Regions from separate parts of the Homo sapiens genome. Here region 1 is linked to region 2. The links are contacts of gene promoters, found by promoter capture Hi-C in blood cells and fetal thymus (Javierre and others, 2016). All regions are on one chromosome and are shown on one strand. Each heading gives the region's core, a stretch centred on a gene start or on the middle of the fragment in contact. The rest is flanking DNA. Distances are from core to core; before and after follow the strand shown.

Region 1 (4,150 bases), core at 156-2,655, 100 kb after region 2:
AGATTTAACTTAGATCCATAAAAACACATAAACAGAAAAAAAAATAGGAGCAGCAAATTTATGCGCGTGAGGTACAGAAAAAGGATTGGAATTGTGTTTAGTTTTTGGTGTTTAGATTATTTTCTTTGTGTCTTTCTTCTTTTTCTTTTTTTTTTTCTTTTTTACAATAGGCCAGAAGAATTCTTATGAGAACAGCTTTTAAGCACTTCAATGGAGTGTCATTTTTTTGGTAGCTTCCAGAAGGTGCCAAACAGGTTTCAACATCATATTAATTAGAAATACCCATAATAATTATAACAATAATAAAAAGGTATAATATGGTACATAAATATGGAAGAGCAGTTTGTAATATGAATACATTTTCTCTAGACGAGATCACAGTTTTATTTTGTAAATATTACATTTAAGTATATATATACACACATATATGTACAACTATATATACATGTGCATATATATGTAAATTTATATTTATATATAATATCTTTATATAGATAGATATCTGCAGACAGGTTATTGATTATAGAGACCCAAGAAAGCAACTCAATAATTGTTCAAAGTTTTCCTCACTGACTGCTGGTGTGTAGTTTAAGAAGCCCCCATTTGTTTGCACTCAGAATGCCTTATCTTCTTTTAATGGAACACTTGATGTGGAATTTTAAGTCTGAGAAGTGAGGTGCCTTCTGAAGAAGAGATTTTAGAGACTCCCTTCCTCTATAAGTTGGAAATGACCAGAAGTCTTAAGTAGACGACAGTTAGCTGACTTTGACATTGTAGGACATAATCAGCTTTTAACCAAATTATAGAACTGGTAAAGGGTAAGATCAAATTTGCCAAAAAAATAAAATATTCTCCAATACAGGTCTCTCTTTTAAGGTGGACTACAATTCAGGAGCTCCGGCTTTATTCCTTGAAATATCAAACAAGCACTCCCTGTCTTGTCTTTCTAAAAGGCCGATGGGCCTGTGCATTCTTGAATAATAACCCATGGACTTTGTGTCAAGCGTTGGCCCTCACAGCCCACCTAAAACCTCAGGGCCTCAAAATCTCCTGCCCTCCCACTGTGAGGTAGGTATATAGTATTATCCCCATTTTGCAGCTAGAGAAACTGATGCAAATGTAGAGGCAATTGGATAACTTGTTCAAGATCACTGAGCAAACTGCTGCCTGGAGTCAAAAATTCTAACTTCTGTACAACAGGGACATAATTTCTCTTTTGGCTATTATACATTTCTTTTAAAAAGCAAGTGATTGGTAGGAATTTGGCAAAAGTTGAATAAGTTACAAGAACAGGCTTTTATTCATTTGCTATTTGGTTTTTATGTTTCTTGTTTACTTCGTTTGATTTGTTTCTCAAAACTCACTCAGTGGGATTACCTGTCTGTCATGTAGCAGCTTTTTAAAAAACTGGACTGTGCAGTGTGGTTCTGAGTGCAGTCTTTATAAAGCCCAGTGCTGTACTGGTAAATATAAACATTTTATAACGTGAAAAGCACAACGACACAATATGTCCCCTTAATAGCTGGAAAAACCAATATAAGCCCTCCCACTCCCTACTACCACTGATTGCCACCAAACAAATAAACAAAATGCCCACCCCACCCAACAACAACAATAACACATCAAGGGGGAAAATGTCATATTTCCTGGACCTACCACAATGTACAGAAAATAACAGACAGTGTTATCAAATCCCACTCTATGTCTTCTAGGGAAATCTTTATGTTTGTGTCTACCTACTGAGGCTGTAGAATAAACAATTTCCTTTAGGAAACATAAAAATAGGTTTTTTATTCTTAGTTTTTAATCATGCATTTTTATTTCCTTTTAATCTCTTTGTCTTCTATTATCTCTATCTGTACAGCTTTGTCACCATTTTTTTTTATTTTCTCACTTGAAGTAGTTCCAGAAAAAAACACAAAACCTCAAAACTGTTAACTTGACCTTATAATTTCCTTTCTCTTTCTTTCTTTCTTTCTTTTTCTTTCTTTCACACAGGTAAGACCTATAACAACAAATTGACAATTACAACCAAGTTAAATCGAACCTGGAAGGGAGGTAGCTGAAATCTGTCTCAAAGAATTATTTTCAACAAATAGTATTTAAGCATTGGCCAGGATGGGAATAAGACCAAGAGAACCGTCTAGGCAGTGACTCAATGTGTTGAAGCCAGGAGTGGCAGCTGATACCCTGCATTTTCAAAGCCCTACCATCTATGACAATCTTTCCCTTCCTTAACACCCCAATTCACCATCAAAACTCATTTCCCAAGGACTGTATTTCCTTAAAAGGTTGTTGGCACAGAATCTGGGGGTAATGCAAATCCTTTGGGTAGGTAGTTAAGATTGTGGCTTGGAAAAGCTTCCCTAAATAGGGCTTAGAGGACTGTCCACCTCATCTTTCATATTTTGCTGCTAACAATCTAATACTTCAGATGCAGAACCTTCAGTGTTTTAGGGCCTTTGAGCTGCTGACACACAATAGTGCATCAGAGCTGCCTCTCAGTGCTCCGGTCACCTACACAGAAGATGACTGAAGGAATGAAATGACGAGTTAATTCCCAGGAAGAAAATGAAACTGGGAACAAATGCATTGCCCAAATTGAGCTGACCCTCCTCCACTAAGGTTTGAAAAGACCCTATTAAAGATACCTTCCATGTGGGCACGAGGTTGGCCACCAATCAAGTAGCCTCTTTTGCCTAATATCCTTGGCAAATATAAATTTGTTAGCAACAGGTCTGAATGAAAGAGACTGGGTGGGTCTTGATTCAGAAGAGCTGAATTCACTCTGTGAGTCTGAAGATACAAGTCAGCCTCCAGGAATCTTTGCTTAGCTGGATAGTGTGAAAATAGATGATGATGGGAGTGAAGATAGAAAGAGGATAAGGACTGATTTGAGGGAAGCTGGTAAGGTTCTTCTGTGGCTCCTGAAATCACATCATTAGTAATGTCATCTTTGGGTCTTCAGAGCTTTTTGTATTACCTATGGGTATAATTAAGCAACTGGGAGGGTTGATACTGTTACATTTCTTAGCTTGTACCTTCTAAGGTAGTTAACACCACACAGGCTGATAACTCAGGGCAAGAGAGAGGCCTGGAGAGTTGACAAGAGTGTGAAGATACTGGAGAGGGGTTCAAAATAGGATCAATTCTTCTAATACTATTCTTATTTCTTGCTAATAATTTGTCCTTGTAATTATAGTGAAGTAATGGTCTGGATATAAATGAGATATGGTTTTGTGAGGAAGAAACATAGAGGATTATTCTTAACAACTGTGGCAGCCTTGCCAATATGGAACCCAATTTCAGAGTTTGTGAAATGGTACAAGTCTCATAAACTATCTCAGCACTGCATCCGTATTTGTGGGCACCTGTGCCAAAAGCACCTTGATATGTTTCTTAGTGTAATTGGCCAGAGATGGCCAATAGATGTCTTCTCAAGTGTTTTTGATCACCAGGTCAGTGCTATTGGGAGTGATATAATATGGTGGTTCCTAAAGTTATTTTTGGTCTCTTTTTTTTTTTTTTTTTAAGTGCTATGATAGATTAACAACACCTGCCTTGGATGCAGGAATTAGGTGGGGCTGCACACGTGCATGGTATTTTCTATCCCTATGCTAGGTTTTGTTTCTGTTGGCTGTCTTCACTAGACTTGAGATGACTTGATTTACAGTAATCCCTATGTGATGTAACTAGTCTAGACCTTCCCTTCTCCGCAATTCCCAGCTCCAGGTTTCAGAAAGTATGCCACACTCAACCCTTCTCTCCAGTTCATCCTGTATTAATTTCTTCCCATATTAATTCAAAGGGAGTGGACAGGTCCCTGGCTGAAAAGAAATAAAGAGATCCCCAAAGTGGTGGGGGCTTCCACGTGCAGTTGACTAATTTTCACTTAACTTTTGGAGGCTAGACATGGGAGAGAGAAAAGCACTGCCCAGTCACAGGTATGGAAGGGAGTACTGCTAGCTGGAAAAACCATATAGAAAACATGATGACCATGTTGAGTTGTTGGTGCTGAGGCTGTGAACTCTTTGGCTTCCTTCTGATGGCCCTCTTGAGAACAATCTGTACTGTTCTTATAAAAGATTCTTTCTCCCAGAATTATATCTCCTCAGAGCAACAGCAAGGTTCTCAGGATCAAAGCCTACTC
Region 2 (4,289 bases), core at 947-3,446:
TGGGGCTTCCCGCCTAAGAGGTAAAATCCCAAATAACACCCATTTCCCAGGGCATGCTTGGAGGTGAAGGGGAGCAATAATAGGAAATACAAGTTGGTGAAATACAAAGAGCTTTGGATTTGAGTCTGGCAGCTCAGTTTGCTAGTCCCACTCCTGTTATCCACCAGCTGAAGGACTTTAGAAAATTTTCTTCACCTCCTTGGGCCTCAGTTTATTCACATGTAAAGTGTGCATCAGAATGCCAGCCTTGCCAGCCTCTCAGAGTTTCATGAACAACTATGAGTTAAGTCATTCAGTAACCACTTATTGAACACCTACTACATACCGAACACTATTCCAGAAGCTGAGGAGAAGGCACTGAACAAGCTCCTATCATGGAGCTTATGTTCCCGGTACAGAGGGTTGGGAGGCAATGATGGTAAAGTAATAGATGTGCAATACAGAGTCAAAGTGTACTATGTGTTTGAAAGAAAAATAGGGTATGAGGATAGAGGTTGGGGGCATACCATTTAGTTACAGTGATCAGGACAAACCTCTTTGAGGGTGTGATGTTTGAGCAGAGACCGGAAAGTGGGAGGAAGTGAACCATGTGGCTAGCTGAATGTAGACTGCTCCAGACTGAGGATGTAGCAATAGCAAAGCCCCTGGAGCATCCTCAGGAGCACCAAGGAGGGCACAGTCATTGAAGTGTAGTCAGCAAAGGGAGAGGGAAGGCGCTCTAGCTGGAGCAGTAGTGAGGCTTTGGATTGCCTAGGAGTTGATGGATATGAAAATACCAGGTACACTGTAAAGTTCTAGTGCAACATGAGTGCCCCCGACCCATCGCCACTTCTTGTTTTGGAATACATTTTATACATTAAGGAGAAGCACTGGGTCAGATATTTTACACATTGAATCCTTGAAACATTCTATTAAAATGGTAATACTTCTTATTCCTGTCTTACACAAGAGGATGCTAAAGGTAGGAAGCCCAGTTTTATTGGAATCCAAAGGTGGTTCTTTGCATATTGTGGCAGACTTCTGGTTTTGGTTTGGTTTTGCCTTGCTTTTCTTAAAAAATAAATTCTAATGACTACTCAGATCCATTTGCATTGATTGGGTATCCAGTAAGGGAGAGGTGGAAACAGGGAGGCGAGCTGGGCACCAGGGAAAAGCTGAGCGGGAACCAACATTGTTTCCACAGAGCAGAGACTCCCTGGATTCATGATCTAGATGGTTCCATTCATCAGTAGCCTCAAAGCGATTAAAGGAATGAGTAGACTATCAGATACTAAAAGCACACGAGATGAGAAGTCAGAGATATTGATGCCCCATATGCAAAGTAGGGTTCTCTGATGTGCTAGCATAGTTAGTAATTATTGAGAATGTAAAGCATTTCAGTCACTTTTAGAGGATGTGAAAGTGTGTCTGACCTTTACTCTTCCCTCATAATAGTCAAATCTCAGTTGCGCAATTTAACCAAGTGACCTTAGGCAAGTTAGTGGATCTCTCTGAATCTTGATATACTCATTTGTAAATTTGGGGAAATAAGCTAACTTGTGTTTTTTGTTGTTGTTGTTTTGGGTTTTTTTTTTTTTTTTTTTGAGACAGGATTTCACTTGGTCATCCAGGCTAGAGGGCAGTGGTACTATCTTGGCTCACTGCAGCCTTGACTTCCCAGGCTCAAGTGATCCTCCCACCTCAGCTTCCTGAGTAGCTGGAGCTACAGATGCACGATACAACACCCAGTTAATTTTTGTACTTTTGTAGAGATGAGGTCTTACTATGTCGCCCAGGCTGGCATATTGTTATTAAGCTGAAATGAGATGCAGTACATGAAATACTAGGCATAGTATCTAACATTGTGAATGCTTAAGTTATATCAATTGTCACTGTTATTCTGAATAATATTATTATTACTTGAGAGTGTAAGATAGAAATACAAGCAGTAGTTAGCAATATGAAACACTCTCACAGGGTTACTGTAAGTATCAGAAAAGATTAAGAGCTTAATAAACACTAGTTATTATTATTATCTCAATGTCCTTTAAGTAAAATGGGTTTTCTTCTTAGACCTCAGAAAGTAGGTGCTGTCTCTCCCATCTTACCTTCCCTTCTTTCTTTCTTTCTCCCTTACCGTCCTCTTTGCCCTCACCTTGGTTGGGCCCCCATCCTGGCGATGTCAGATGCAGTCGCACAGGTTTTGCTGCTCACAATGCTACCACATTCCAAAGCTCACCATTCCAATTGTAGACATCATAAACATGTATTAATCATTGATCAAGTGTCTTGTTCTAACAAATCAGAATATTGGAACAAGGGAGGGAAGTATCTTAAGAAAGAGATGATTTTTATTTTTCTATTGTTTTTCCAATTTGCACAGAGGCACCCTATAGGCTAGCAGTAATAGTCTGAGCTTTAGTTTTCCTGTCTGTACAATGAAGCCCTGAAACAGATGATGCCTCAGGATCCCCATGGTTTTGGGTCCTTGCAGGTCCAGAAGTGGGCACTGCACTACCCAAGTTCATGAAGTCAGCTTTGGGACTATGGAGAGCAGAACTGTGATATGGACTGTGATGCCTTAGAGACCTGTGGGTTCTTGGTCTCTCTACCTTAACCACAGGTACCTGTAAACTGGGGATGATAATCCTAAACTGCCTACCTCACAGGATTATCGTGAGGATTAAATGAGGAAAGAGCGTGCTTTGTAAGCCCTAATGAGCTGCACAAATTGGAAAGATTACTTACACCACACGAACACACTCATATATATATTAAGTATGTATGTGTGTTTATATTTTACATTGCAGTATGTATGTGTGCATGTGTGTATATATAGTATATGTGTGTGTATATATTATGTAAAGCTGTGAACTCATAGGGTTAGGTATGAATTAGAAGCTTGTAAAACATGTTTACTCATTCAGTGTAACCCAAGGCAGTTATTAAACAGTAGGAAAAACTGACCAGCTAAATTTTCCAAGCCTAAAAACGCTTTTATAGTTTTCATTGTGGATTGAAGGGTGACCTTGTTTCCTTTTCTTTATTTCAAGGAAAATTTTAACATAAATGAGGAAGCAAGGGAGTCATTTTAATAGAGTGAAAACCTCTATATGTGGGTGGGAGGGATAGATGAGGGGAGCTGAATGGAAATGCCAGTCACCCTCTCACTCTCCCCCCCTCCTCCTCCCAGATCATCTGCCCCGAGTAGCGGTGAGACCAGAAGTAAAGCTTCCCTGGTCACTCAAGGGCATCCATCTCCAGAAGATGCCCTTCTAGCTGGTCCTGCCGTGCCCTTCCTTCCTTCCTTCCTCCCTCCTTCTTCCTTCTTCCTTCCTTTCTCCTTTCTTCTTTCCTTACTTCCTTCCCTTCTTTCCTTTCTCCTTCCTTTTTTCTTTTCTTCCATCTTCCTTCCCTTCCTCCCTCCTTCCTTCCTTCCTTTCTTCCTTCCCTTCTTCTTTCCTTCCTCCTTTTTTCTTTCCTTTCATCTTCCTTCCTTCCCTCTCTCCCTCCCTCTCTCCTTCCTTCCCTTCTTTTCTTCCTCCTTCCTTTTTTTCTTTCCTTCCATCTTTCTTCCCTCCCTCCCTCCTTTCCTCCTTCCTTCCCTTCTTCTTTCCTTCCTCTCTTTTTTCTTTCCTTTCATCTTCCTTCCTTCCCTCTCTCCCTCCCTCCTTCATTCTCTTCTTCTTTTCTACCTCCTTCCTTTTTTCTTTCCTTCCATCTTCCTTCCTTCCTTCTCTCCTTCCTTCCCTCATTCATTCATTCATTCCTTCCTTCCTTCCTTCCTTCCTTCCTTCCTTCCTTCCTTCCTTCCTTCTTTCCTTTCTTCCTTCTGTTTTTCTTGTTTGCCTTGGTCTTGGTCTTTCTGACCCCGATTTTCTCTGTTTCTCTCTCTCTCTCCTCACCAACTCCTGTCTATGTCTCTCTATTTCTATCTGTCTTTCTAGGTCTCTGACCTTCTATCCACTTCTCTCTGATTGTCTTTTTTCTGCATTTTTATTTCTGGTTCTCTGTCTTTGGCCCTATGTGTTCTTATCTATGTCTCTCTCTTTCTCTCTCCATTTCTCCTCTGTCTCTCACTGTGGCTCTCAGTTTCTGCTTCAGTCTTTCTGAGTATTTTCTGGCTGTAGTTCTCTCTTGGTCTCTTTCTCTATTTCTCTCTCTCTCTCCTCTCTCTGTGTGTGAGTGTGTGTCTTTGTGTCTGTGTGTTGTGTGTCTCCTCTCTGTGTTTGTTTTTTGTGTGTGTCTCTCTCTGTCTCTCTCTGTGTGTCTCTATGTCTCTCTGCCTCTCTGTCCCTGTCTCTCTGTCT

What was found. Contacts are between HindIII fragments. The CHiCAGO score rates a contact against its expected background, and 5 or more counts as called.
Region 1: the fragment with the promoter of PAPPA-AS1 here is called in contact with the fragment with the promoter of ASTN2-AS1 in region 2 in 13 of 17 cell types (neutrophils, M2 macrophages, M0 macrophages and 10 more); the score reaches 13.5 in neutrophils.

The regions. Positions count from the first base shown.
Region 1 is chr9:116,397,861-116,402,010 of GRCh38, reverse strand. It overlaps PAPPA-AS1 (PAPPA antisense RNA 1), which reads left to right and starts at 1,405. Exons shown (of 1, transcript NR_103711.1): 1 at 1,405-3,854. It overlaps PAPPA (pappalysin 1), which reads right to left. Exons shown (of 22, transcript NM_002581.5): 22 at 1-4,150. The HindIII fragment of the contact is 11,566 bases long and covers 1-2,363 here.
Region 2 is chr9:116,502,190-116,506,478 of GRCh38, reverse strand. ASTN2-AS1 (ASTN2 antisense RNA 1) reads right to left here and starts at 2,196. Exons shown (of 12, transcript NR_033973.1): 1 at 2,135-2,196. The region is part of intron 19 of ASTN2 (astrotactin 2); the gene reads left to right. RefSeq lists an enhancer at 827-996. The HindIII fragment of the contact is 9,663 bases long and covers 1-2,882 here.